Linked DNA regions of Homo sapiens: all the other regions are linked to region 2. The links are contacts of gene promoters, found by promoter capture Hi-C in human tissues and cell types (Jung and others, 2019). All regions are on one chromosome and are shown on one strand. The core of a region is centred on a gene start or on the middle of the fragment in contact, and the rest is flanking DNA. Distances in the headings are between cores, read along the strand shown.

Region 1 (4,178 bases), core at 158-2,657, 510 kb before region 2:
TTTAAGTGACTAGCTTGTCAATAAAGTTTCAGCATGTAAGTTTCTTCCCAAGTGTAAATCTTGACTTTGAAGTTCCACTCTTTCTGAAACCCTGTGACAAAGAGAAAAAGACAGTGGGCTGCAAACTGGGAGGCTTGAATTCTACTTCTGGCTTGCTCACAGATTAATTTTTTAACCTTTAAGATAAAGTAAGCCAATTGTATTATTGTTATCCCTGTATATGACTTAATTCCAATGATTCATAAGCTTCCTTAAGGCAAGGACAAAGTTTTACCGAAGTTTTATCTTTGTACTCCTCACTATGGCTTAGTAAATACTGCATAAGTACATAGCTTCAGTTCTCTCATCTGTAAAAATGAGGGGATTGTACTGTCTTAATTCCTTTTAGCTCTCAAATATTTTGGACATAGAGGTCAGTGAAAAATTAGCCCCATCTTTGGAGAGGAATTGAGGATCAGGAAAATATAAATGTGAGTGCCGCAGTTGCTAAAAGTAAAAGGCTGTCCCCAACTTTTTTTTTTTTTTTTAATGGAGAGATAGACCAAGATCCTGGTCTATCCAGAAATTAGCCTTTCTATTCTGGTGTATCATGTGTATTCTAAAGTGTTTCACATCTTTCCTTTCTTTATCACCAAGGTTACTGCTATACCAAGCCTTCCAAATAATTTCAGAACTGACCTTGAGTGGGAGGAGGCAGAGTACCTTTGTGGTTTTACTCTGACGTTTATAAATACAGTGCCCACATAAAAGAAACTTTTCATTAGTATTGAATGAATTTTATATTATTTCCAAAGTAGAAAATTTATAGTCTTATTTTTTTAACTTTCATATTTTAGAGTAGCCTTATAGGTTCTCTTTCTTTGACATACATCTCTGAGATCCCACCTTAAGTGAATAACTGTTTTTTCTTTGCTTTTTTTTTTTTTTTTTTTTTTTTTTTGAGACTGAGACTAGCTCTGTTGCCCAGGCTGGAGTGCAGTGGCGCGATCTCGGCTTACTGCAACCTCCGCCTCCCAGGTTCCAGTGATTCTCCTGCCTCAGCCTCCCAAGTAGCTGGGTCTACAGGCGCATGCCACCATGCCCAGCTAATTTTTTGTATTTTTATTAGAGACGGAGTTTCACCGTTTCAGCCAGGATGGTCTCGATCTCCTGACCTTGTGATCCGCCTGCCTCGGCCTCCCAAAGTGCTGGGATTACAGGCGTGAGCCACCGCCCCCGGCCCTTGAATAACATTTTAAAATGTTTACACACAACCTCAGGTTTAAATAGAATTACTTTTAAAGTAAGTCTGTTATTAGCAATATCTTTATATTTATTGAATTTATTATTATAAATTTCTTTCTCATGACAGATTTTTTTAAGCATGGTTGAATAAATCGTCTTTACTGAAAGAATTGTAATATAAAGCGAATTGCTTGATTTTTTTTCCATTTAATTGTGAATTGGATACTTTCATGATTTTTAAATTATAAAGTGCCCATATTAAAGTATATATTAAATGTAATTATGGGGGAAAATGCCAAAAGTAAAAACAAAAAGCTCAAATAATACAAAGAGAAATATGTAGTGAAAAATGTACTTCTGCTTCTCAGAGTCAGTTATTATTAATAATGTATTGTGGATGTTTACAAAAACATTAATGCAAATGTAAGCATATATAAACATGATTACTTAGACTTATATATCCATGTCCTTTAAAAAAATTATTTTGCTATTCCTGTCAGTGACCTAGTTCACAGTAGTTGTTCAATAAATATTTAAATTACCCAATACTCTTTTATTAGTCGACAGCTGGTCCGTTTTTCTGATGCATTTGGTTCTTAAAGTGCCATGTAGTTTTCAAGGATCTGAGACTAAGTTTTTCAATTATAGTAAAAACATTTTTCAGCAGTACTAAAATATTAAATGTAAATATAAATAAAACTACTTTTGTATGTGATTTAAAACATCAATCTGCACGACTGTGTATAATAGGTTTAGTTCTCAGACTTGATAAAACTTATGAACAGGTTTTACCAGTTTACCAACTATGATGAAAGTACCTGATTATTTGTTTCTGAGTTATAAAGTGAATTGTTAAGAAGTTACACAATAGGCATCCTGGTATTTGAAGAAATGCTCTGTAGTTAAAATACTTCATATTAGAATATGGTAGATTCTTAATAAAAGAGGCTAATTTTCCCAAACTCTTCTTGTATATTAGGACATTTGGAAAACAAAAGGCATTTGCTTCTCCTGGAAAAGAATTGTGGCTTAATCTAAAGAAGCACATTTACCTTGAAGCTTTAATATAACCTGTTACTAGTCTTAAAATCCAAAGTACATATAGGGTAGTCCAGTCAAAGTTAAAATTACTTTCTTCCATAAATAATTTTTCTTTCTGACAAGATGGAGTAGATTTTAATGAATTGAGAGATTGTTTTTCTTTTGTGACATCATATTTATTATATTAAAAGATATCAGAGCTTTTTTTTCCTGGAGAATATGAAGTTGTTGGCTTGGAACTAGAAAAAATTAGAAAATATATTTTTCAACGGCCATGATAATGCCAAGTTGAAAATTAAAGTGTGTGTTTGCTTTCCCCCAAGAGTCTCCCTGTTGAATAAATGAGTTCTTTAAAACTTTTAGAGAAATAATAATGGTGTTATTGAAGAATAATGTCTCATGACCAAAGTAGCTCTAATCTAGGCTTGTATATATGATTTAAAATATTAGAAGGAAGATGAAAAAGACTTAGTAAACTAATAACAGATGGATACCTAATAAGAAATATTTATCTGAAATTAACAGCCAACACCATACCTAACATTCTATTAAAATCAGGAATAAAACAATGAAGCCTGGTATCACAGCACCAGAATATTGGTTGATAAAAGTTCACCATTGAGTGTACATGTTTTCCTATGCAGGTTAGAGACTTCAGAGTAGCTAATAAGGAGCCACGACATGGGCCTAAGAGAAGAGAAGATAGTACTCAAGTGGAGTTTCTGCTTAGGGCAGCAATGGCCAGATCAACTAATATATCAGGAATATCTAGATATTAAATACAAGATCAAAAGACATGAATAGATAATTCACACACAAACCCCAAAAATAAATGGTCAATATATTTTTGAAAGAATGTAGCTGGACATGGTGGCTCACACCTGTAATATCAGCACTTTGGGAGGCCGAGGCAGGCAGATCACGAGGTCAAGAGATCGAGACCATCCTGGCCAACATGGTGAAACCCCATCTCTACTAAAAATACAAAAAATTAGCTGGGCGTGGTGGCGGGCGCCTGTAGTCCCAGCTACTCGGGAGGCTGAGGCAGGAGAATGGCTTGAACCTGGGAGGCGGAGGTTGCAGTGAGCCGAGATTGCGCCACTGCACTCCACCCTGGTGACAGAGTGAGACTCTGTCTCAAAAAAAAAGAATGTCCAAGCTCACTAGAAATCAAAGAGATACATAATTAAACAAAATATAATTTTATAGCATGTTAAATTGGTGAAGATTAAAAATAATACTGAACATTGACAAATGCTGTTACATATTATTGTTGGAATTCAGATTGCTATGTACACTTATTTTGGAAAGCGATTTAGCAGTAGCCTTAATCAACTTTATCAGTAGCCTTAATAATATTGCAATTTCTCACTATATAAGCTTCATTTTTAAAAAACAATACATATGTGATCCCAGCACTTTGGGAAGCCAAGGCAGGAGGACTGCTTGAGGCCAGGAATTTAACACCAGCCTGGGCAACATAGTGAGACCCATCTCTACAAAAAAATTAAAAAGTTAGTCAGCAATGGTGGCACATCTCTAGTCCTAGCTACTTGGAAGGCTGAGGCGGGAAGATCACATGAGCCTAGGAGTTTTGGGTTACAGCGAGCTATGATCATGCCACTGCATTCCAGCCTCAGTGACAGGGTAAGAGCCTATCTCAAAAAAACAGCAAGATATAAGATTGTATATATAAATTTATTCTATTTTTTACACAAATATCTTTACATACTTATATATGGGGGAAAATTCAAAAAACAATATTTAGAAATTCAAGCAAAAAATTTGATGATATACTGCCCTTATCCCCAGTTTTAGTGGTGTTAGGATGATTTATCTAGTCTTCTATGTACTTTTATTTTATAATTATTTATAGTACTTTTTTAATAATTCGAAGGAATAATCATTTATAG
Region 2 (4,042 bases), core at 602-3,101:
AAATCATCAGGAATGTAAAAAATCATTGAGAAATATTTATTTTTATCTCCACAGCTTCTTCATTCTTGTTCAATGAAACTGTGATAACCTAAGCGGTAAGTTCCAGTTGGTCTCTCTCTCCAACCCCCTTCACTCTTCATCTGCAAGTTTAGTCACTTTATTGAGGTTAAAACAGGTCATAGATAGTATGTGGTTTAAAACTGTTTAAAAGTTTCACATGTGAAAATCCGGATTTAGGGCCTGGCGCGGTGGCTCACGACTGTAATCTCGGCACTTTGGGAGGCTGAGGCGGGCAGATCGCTTGAGACCTGCCGGGGCAGCATGAAGGGACTTCCCACCCCCACTAAAACAATACAAAAAATGAGCCGGGCTTGGTGGCAAGCCCTGTAGTCCCAGCTACTCGGAGGATGAGGTGGGAAAATCACCTGGGCCCGAGAGGCGGAGGTTGCAGTGAGCCCAGATCGCGCTACCGCACTCCAGCCTGGACGACAGACCCACTCTGTGGCCAAAAAAAAAAAAAAAAAAAAGAAAAAAAGAAAAAAGAAAGAAAAAAAGAAAAGAAAAATCCCGAATTACAAAGCAATTGGGGGAATGGTAATTCAATTAAAAAGGTGTACAACATTCTTTTAAATAGTAAACTGCCCAATGATTACAACATTGATTCAACTGACGAAAAATACAACTTTTCAGACCACGACTAAACATTGTGGCAGTAGAAACTATTTTTTTTTTCCCTGAATGATGAAAGAAAAAAACCAGAGAAGACGTTAAGACAGAACACGTGGAAAAAGCCCATCTCATACTCCATTCTAATGTTTCTTCTACTTACCAGTGCTTTCTGTGTCATTAAACTACTTCAGACTTCAAGAGCAATGGGAAACAATGAAACCTCAGTCCTTTGCTATTTTCCTTTTCAGGTACAGGAGAGGGAGAGGACAGACTTAGGGTTGTGCCTTCGAACAAGCACATTCAACGACAGCCTCAGTTAGAATTCCCAGACGCTGCCTGTCTTCCTGGGTCTTGAAAAAGTGGGGAAAAAGTGAGGTTGGCCCACTCAGACTGCCAGTGATGCTGTGGTGTGACGGGTGTGTATCTCTATCTCATACAATGGGCGCAGGTGAGGACCAGGACCTGCGACCTTCGTACGTTTACAGTCCCTGAAAGCCCTCACCTTTAATTAGTAGGGAAAATAAAAGTCATCTGGCAAGCTGGAGTGCGGGTAAAATACAAGTTAATGAACATGAGCATTCGTGTTCATTAAGAACTCTGGCACAGAGTTCAACGGCAGAGGGCACAATACTCACTGGCCACGGCCAGCTGCTGGCGGCCAGGAGAAGCAGAACCAAAGGACCGCTGGGACTTGTAGTCCACCATGTTTCCCTCGGGATTGCCGATCCCCTTACGAGAACCACAACTCCCAAGGTTTACCGCGCGCGTCGGTCTTCACTGCCCTCTCCGAGGCCGGCTCAGGAACCTCCCGGGAAACTGCCCCCCACCCCGCCCTCGTACGCACGCGTCACGTTTGTTTACCCTGAAGCTCCGCCTCCGGCCATCCCCTGGCTCTCCCCACTCCTCCCTGGAATGCCGTCATGCCGGCGATGAATATTTATGAGGCACACGCGGCCCTCCCGCCCTGCCAGCCTCCCGCCTTCCCGCTCCCGGCGCATGATTAATATTCAATGAGCCCAGATCCGCGGCTGGTTCGCCGGGTTGAGGCGGGGGTAGCGGGCGGGGCCGGCGCTGGGGAGCCCGCGACCCGGGCGGGGAGGGCGTGTGTCGGGGGGGCGGTGGCGGCGAGGCGGGCGCGCGGGATGGAACACTGAGACACCGACGGAATGCTCCGAATCGCCACATAATCCCCTGGAACGGCCGCGCACAACGCCATTGGCTTCTCCCTTCTCCGCGCGCCGCCGCCGTCTCCCACCTCCGCCTCATCGCCTCCCTCTCCGCCCGCTGCCTCCGGAGCTGGGGGGGAAACGCGAAGCCCCACTGCAATGGAGCCCGCCGCCGCGGCCACGGTACAGCGACTCCCCGAGCTCGGCAGGGAGGACCGAGCTTCGGCTCCGGCGGCCGCCGCTGCGGCAGCAGCAGCAGCAGCGGCGGCCGCGGCGGCTCTGGCGGCGGCGGCCGGGGGCGGCCGGAGTCCGGAGCCCGCGCTGACCCCGGCGGCCCCGAGCGGCGGGAACGGCAGCGGCAGCGGGGCGCGGGAAGAGGCCCCAGGCGAGGCGCCGCCGGGGCCGCTGCCGGGCAGAGCGGGGGGTGCCGGGCGCAGGAGGCGGCGCGGGGCGCCCCAGCCCATTGCCGGCGGGGCTGCCCCCGTACCCGGGGCCGGCGGCGGCGCCAACTCCCTCCTGCTGAGGAGAGGGCGGCTGAAGAGGAATCTGTCCGCGGCCGCCGCGGCCGCCTCCTCGTCGTCGTCGTCCTCGGCCGCTGCTGCCTCGCACTCCCCCGGCGCTGCCGGCCTCCCCGCCTCCTGCTCGGCCTCGGCGTCGCTGTGCACCCGGAGCCTGGACAGGAAGACGCTGCTTCTGAAGCACCGGCAGACGCTGCAGCTGCAGCCGTCGGACCGGGACTGGGTGAGGCACCAGCTCCAGCGCGGCTGCGTGCACGTCTTCGACCGCCACATGGCCTCGACCTACCTGCGCCCGGTGCTCTGCACACTGGACACCACGGCCGGCGAGGTGGCCGCCCGCCTGCTGCAGCTGGGCCACAAAGGCGGCGGCGTGGTGAAGGTGCTGGGCCAGGGGCCCGGAGCCGCCGCCGCCCGGGAGCCCGCTGAACCGCCCCCCGAGGCCGGCCCCCGGCTGGCGCCCCCGGAGCCGCGGGACTCGGAGGTACCGCCCGCGAGGAGCGCGCCGGGTGCCTTCGGGGGGCCTCCGCGCGCGCCCCCCGCCGACCTACCCCTGCCCGTCGGCGGCCCGGGCGGGTGGTCGCGCCGCGCCAGCCCAGCGCCCTCGGACTCCAGCCCCGGCGAGCCGTTCGTTGGGGGCCCTGTCTCTTCGCCCCGCGCCCCACGGCCTGTGGTCTCCGACACCGAGAGCTTCAGTCTGAGTCCCAGCGCCGAGAGCGTGTCTGACCGGTTGGACCCCTACAGCAGCGGCGGCGGCTCCTCGTCGTCGTCGGAAGAGCTCGAGGCCGACGCAGCCTCGGCCCCGACGGGGGTCCCGGGCCAGCCCCGCCGTCCCGGCCACCCCGCGCAGCCCCTCCCGCTTCCCCAGACGGCTTCCTCGCCTCAGCCGCAGCAGAAAGCCCCGAGGGCCATTGACAGCCCGGGCGGGGCCGTCCGCGAGGGGTCGTGCGAGGAGAAGGCAGCGGCAGCCGTGGCCCCGGGAGGCCTCCAGTCTACCCCCGGGAGGAGCGGGGTGACCGCGGAGAAGGCGCCTCCGCCGCCCCCGCCGCCCACCCTGTACGTGCAGCTCCACGGAGAGACCACCCGGCGCTTGGAGGCGGAGGAGAAGCCATTGCAGATCCAAAATGACTACCTCTTCCAACTGGGATTTGGGGAGCTGTGGAGGGTGCAGGAGGAAGGCATGGACTCGGAGATTGGCTGCCTCATCCGCTTCTATGCAGGTAAGGAAGTCACCTGCCTTGACGGGTGGTTGCAAAAGCTGCCGAGGACCGAGGAGTGATTCAAATTGCTTGTCAGTTTGCCCAACCCAAGAGTAAGTGCGGGTCCTGATGAGTCTTTGTCTTAAACTTTACAGCTTTTTCATACAGTCTGTGTAGTACTAGATTGAGCAATCTTTAAATCTGCACGTTTTATCAATCTTGAGGGCTCAGAGGTTGGAAAGCAATGTGAAAGAGGTGGCTGAATCACCAGGAAGTACAGGAAGCAGATCCCTCTGAAAGCGGCAAGAGCACCTTTAACCATAAAGGTGCTTCCTCAGGGGCATGTTGGGTTTCAGGCAGTTTGGGATTTCAGGTAAACTGTCACGTGAGCATAAGACGGACAGAAGAAATGACAATAAAAATGCTCTATCACACTTTTGCCTGCATTTGACTGTCCAGTTGAGCGTTCTAGCTGTATGTGCCACCGGGAGCT
Region 3 (3,840 bases), core at 548-3,047, 770 kb after region 2:
TGGTATATTTGCAATGGGAACTGGCCTGAGCGCATGGCTGTACTTATCAGGGACATATGGAGAAGGAGGAAGCCCATGGAAATGACCAGTGAGCATGAACAGAGTCAATAAAACATTATTTTTGGATAATGAACTCGCTTTTTCAGACTCTGAGATATAATCGATTTAAGTCCATCCTACACACAAGCCATATATCCCATAAAAGGGAGAATTCTGAAGAAATGTTTAAAGACCAGGAGTCCTCTCCTCCATCTTATTCTCGTCTTTGCATTCTGAATTTGTGTCCAGGTATAAGGTGCAAATTGCAATCCTATTCATCATGCCTTTGACTCTTGACACACGTTTGGGTACTGGCCAAAGGGAGTCCTCTATCTTAAGCAGTGGAGCTTACTTTCTAATGCCAGGGTGCATGTCCTACCTGAAGACCTTCAATGTCACATTCGGCCCTTGTGTCTGTGTGTGTGCGCCTGAGGCTTTGGGGGAACACTTCGAGTTTAATCCCTGTACTGCTCACCCCGGGGTAGTAATATCAATTCATTTCCCTTAGAAACATGCTGTCCTGGCTTAGGCAGAACCTCAGGAGTTCATGTAGTTCAGCTCTGCTCCCAGAAAGGGAAGCCCTGACTGCCTGAATTTACCTAATTGTCTTTGGAGTCGATCAGTAACTACCAGACTAAATAGGTAGGTAGACCTTTATTAGAACAGTGAAGCTTTTTAAATCTGAGGACCCTGTTACACTCTTAAAAATTACCGAGGACCCCAAAGAACTGTTTCTTTAAAAAAAATGTAGATTATATCTATCACTATTTACCAAACTAGAAATGAAAACCAGACACATTTTGAAATGTTCATTTACTAATTTATTAAAATAATATAATAATTAAATACTAATATGAATAATATATATATTAAAAAACATTTTCTAAAGTGAAAAAATGTAATGAGAAGAGTGATATTGTTTTTCATTTTTGCAAATCTCCTTAATATTTGGCTTAATAGAAGGGATGTCATATAGCCTCTGGAAAACTCCGCTGTCTATTAGAGATTGAGAATGATAATGTCTTAGTATTATCATGAGAATAGTTTTAACCTCATGGACCTCCTGAAAGGGTGTTAGGGACTGCCAGGAGTCAAGACACAACACTTTGGAAGTTGCTGTGTTAAAATTAAAGAGCTCTGAGATGTGACAAGATGCCTAGTTGCTGCTATATCCACTTTACCAGGCTACATATTTTGAAACTGTTCCCTCTTTTCTTTAACTCCCATATTACTTATTATACCACTCACATGTCTTGGGCAGCTCTGTATTCTAGTTATTTGTCTGCATATCTGCCCAAAGAGACTATGAGCTTAGAGAAGGAGGAGGTCCACTGATCCTTGTAACACTCTGGGTAGTGTCTTACACACAGATGCGTATTATAAACGCAAACAATAACCGCTGCTGTTTATTAAGTATTGTTATGTGCTGGGTGTCCTGCAAAGGCATTAGTTACTTTAAGGGTTTTCTAGCACTTCTCACAAAGCACCACAAACCAGGCAGCTTAAAGCAACAGAAGCTTTATTCACCCACAGGCTTGGAGGCCAGTACTTTGAAATGACGATGTCGGCAGGGTCATGCTGTCTCAAAAGGCTCCAGGGGAGAATGTTCCATGACTTTCTCTTGGTTTCTGGTGTTGCCAGCAGTTCTTAGCATTCTTTGGCTTGTGGAAGCATCCCTCCAATCTCTGCCTCCATTGCCATACGGCATGCCCTTCACACAGGTGAAGACATTTGTGTCTTCACATCTTCCCTCTGTGTATGTCTGTTTCTGTGTCTCTCCTCTTATTCCTTTAAGGACACCAGTCATATCGGATTAGGGCTCACCTAACTCCAATGTAACTTCATCTTAACTAATTATATATTAGTTAAGAAATAGGACATACCCTGTTTCCACGTAAGGTCACATTCACAGGTAATGGGGATTAGGACTTAACATATCTTTTTGGGGGACACAATTCAACCCATTACACTTACTAAATATTAAACTGAACAATGCAAAACTGCTGCAATTCGACTGTTTTTGTTTTATAAAAGTTTTAACTTTGTAGTTTAACTGAAATCCTAATGGAAACAATATGTGATAAATAAAACCAACTGATGTTGATTAGTGCTGTCAACTTTTCTGACATATGCTGGAGAAGAGATGTGACCACTGGGCTCCCGACAATGGCCACTGTGGCTGAGCAGGCCCAAGACTGCAGAGTCTAGGCAGAGCTGGACACACAGAGGACCTCACATGCCTTCAGACATTTGCCTGGAAGTTTCTTCACAACTGATCTTACTTTTGAATTTACAGAAAGTTCCTTGTTTCTTCTGAGATCAATTACTTTGTTTAAATAGAATTCTTATAGTGTTGGCAGAATGCAGTTGAGAAGACGTTAAAGATGCTTTAGAAACTAACTGCTCCCTTGTCCTTGCTTCCAGGCCCGCAATGGATGCCCTGCAACTAGCAAATTCGGCTTTTGCCGTTGATCTGTTCAAACAACTATGTGAAAAGGAGCCACTGGGCAATGTCCTCTTCTCTCCAATCTGTCTCTCCACCTCTCTGTCACTTGCTCAAGTGGGTGCTAAAGGTGACACTGCAAATGAAATTGGACAGGTAAGCCCCAAAACCTTGTTTCTACTTTAAGTGGGAATACAGTTATTAGAACCCATAGGCAGTGCCTACGGAAAAAAGGAATGTAGACTTTGTGGCCAGAATTGGTCAAGATTCAGAACTGTGCCATTCCAGGACTCTCTTAATCTTTTTTTTTTTTTTTTTTTTTTGTGAGACAGGGTCCCACTCTGTCACCCATGCTGGAGTGCAGTGGTGCGATGTTGGCTCACTGCAGCCTCCAGGTTCAAGCGATTGTTGTGCCTCAGCCTGCCGAGTAGCTGGGATGACAGGCGCGTGCCACAACGCCAGGCAAATTTTTGTATTTTTAGTAGAGACAGGGTTTCACCATGTGGCCAGGCTGGTCTCGAACTCCTGACTTCAGGTGATCCGCCTGCCTCGGCCTCCCAAAATGCTGGGATTACAGGCATCTTAATTTATTTTTAAATGTGAAAGCTCGCTTGTAGGTAATGCAACTCACATCTGGGACAGGCACCAGGCTGTGATGGAGAACCTGGAGATCTGCTGGGTAATCACAGCTTTTTCATTCTGACTTATAATATTTTCAATTTACAATGGTTTTATTGAGATGTAACCTCATCATAAATCAAGCAGCATCTGTATCGTTTTAGGGTTTCTTTCTGGCTATGGTTGATTATCTAGCTTTGTAAAGTTCTTAGACCTTCAAATGAGACAATTTTCCTGATTGTTCCGTTTTAAGTCCTCATGTACTTTTACATAATAGGTGAATGTTCTTCTAATTCTATTTCATTATTACTCTTATGCTAATCATTCTAGGTTCAATAGAATTTCTTTTCTATTAGCTCATAAGCATTTAAAAAGGCAACACCTTCTTGTATTCATATGTGTCCAGAAAGTATGGCCCATAAGAGTTATTTAGGTAAGGATGAAGAATTTACACTTGGGACTTGAAGCAGCTTCACTCCTGTGAAGAGGAGATGTATCTTGACATCAAGCCACATCTCTGAACTGCGCAACTCCACTATCCCTACCCAATCTCCCATTCCTCATTTCTCATCTACCATTAGAGAAAGGCCAGCGAAAGAGAACTTCCGGGTAGTGGGTCTGTTCCTCAGTAATTCCTCAAGCTCTTCTCAGTATATGCAACTGGTTCCCCAGCAGTAGTTACCTGGGCTCTTAAATTTTCTGGTCTCCTTCATCCATCTTTAGGCATGAGAGTTATGCAC

Evidence for each region. Contacts are between HindIII fragments. The study calls those that stand out against the background at their distance.
Region 1: a fragment that was not itself captured here is called in contact with the fragment with the promoter of PHLPP1 in region 2 in 1 of the 25 tissues and cell types used here (dorsolateral prefrontal cortex).
Region 3: a fragment that was not itself captured here is called in contact with the fragment with the promoter of PHLPP1 in region 2 in 1 of the 25 tissues and cell types used here (lymphoblastoid cells).

The regions. Positions count from the first base shown.
Region 1 is chr18:62,200,052-62,204,229 of GRCh38, forward strand. The region is part of intron 1 of RELCH (RAB11 binding and LisH domain, coiled-coil and HEAT repeat containing); the gene reads left to right. Among named protein-coding and RNA genes, the nearest start is that of RELCH, 15 kb to the left of the region's middle. The HindIII fragment of the contact is 3,113 bases long and covers 1-2,964 here.
Region 2 is chr18:62,713,690-62,717,731 of GRCh38, forward strand. It overlaps PHLPP1 (PH domain and leucine rich repeat protein phosphatase 1), which reads left to right and starts at 1,852. Exons shown (of 17, transcript NM_194449.4): 1 at 1,852-3,570. The coding sequence starts at 1,995. RefSeq lists enhancers at 1,056-1,115, 1,206-1,315, 2,273-3,235 and silencers at 1,586-1,875, 2,226-2,455, 2,666-2,805, 3,116-3,215, 3,316-3,435. The HindIII fragment of the contact is 18,418 bases long and covers 1-4,042 here.
Region 3 is chr18:63,481,959-63,485,798 of GRCh38, forward strand. It overlaps SERPINB5 (serpin family B member 5), which reads left to right. Exons shown (of 7, transcript NM_002639.5): 2 at 2,464-2,638. The coding sequence starts at 2,471. Among named protein-coding and RNA genes, the nearest start is that of SERPINB5, 6.9 kb to the left of the region's middle. The HindIII fragment of the contact is 3,293 bases long and covers 152-3,444 here.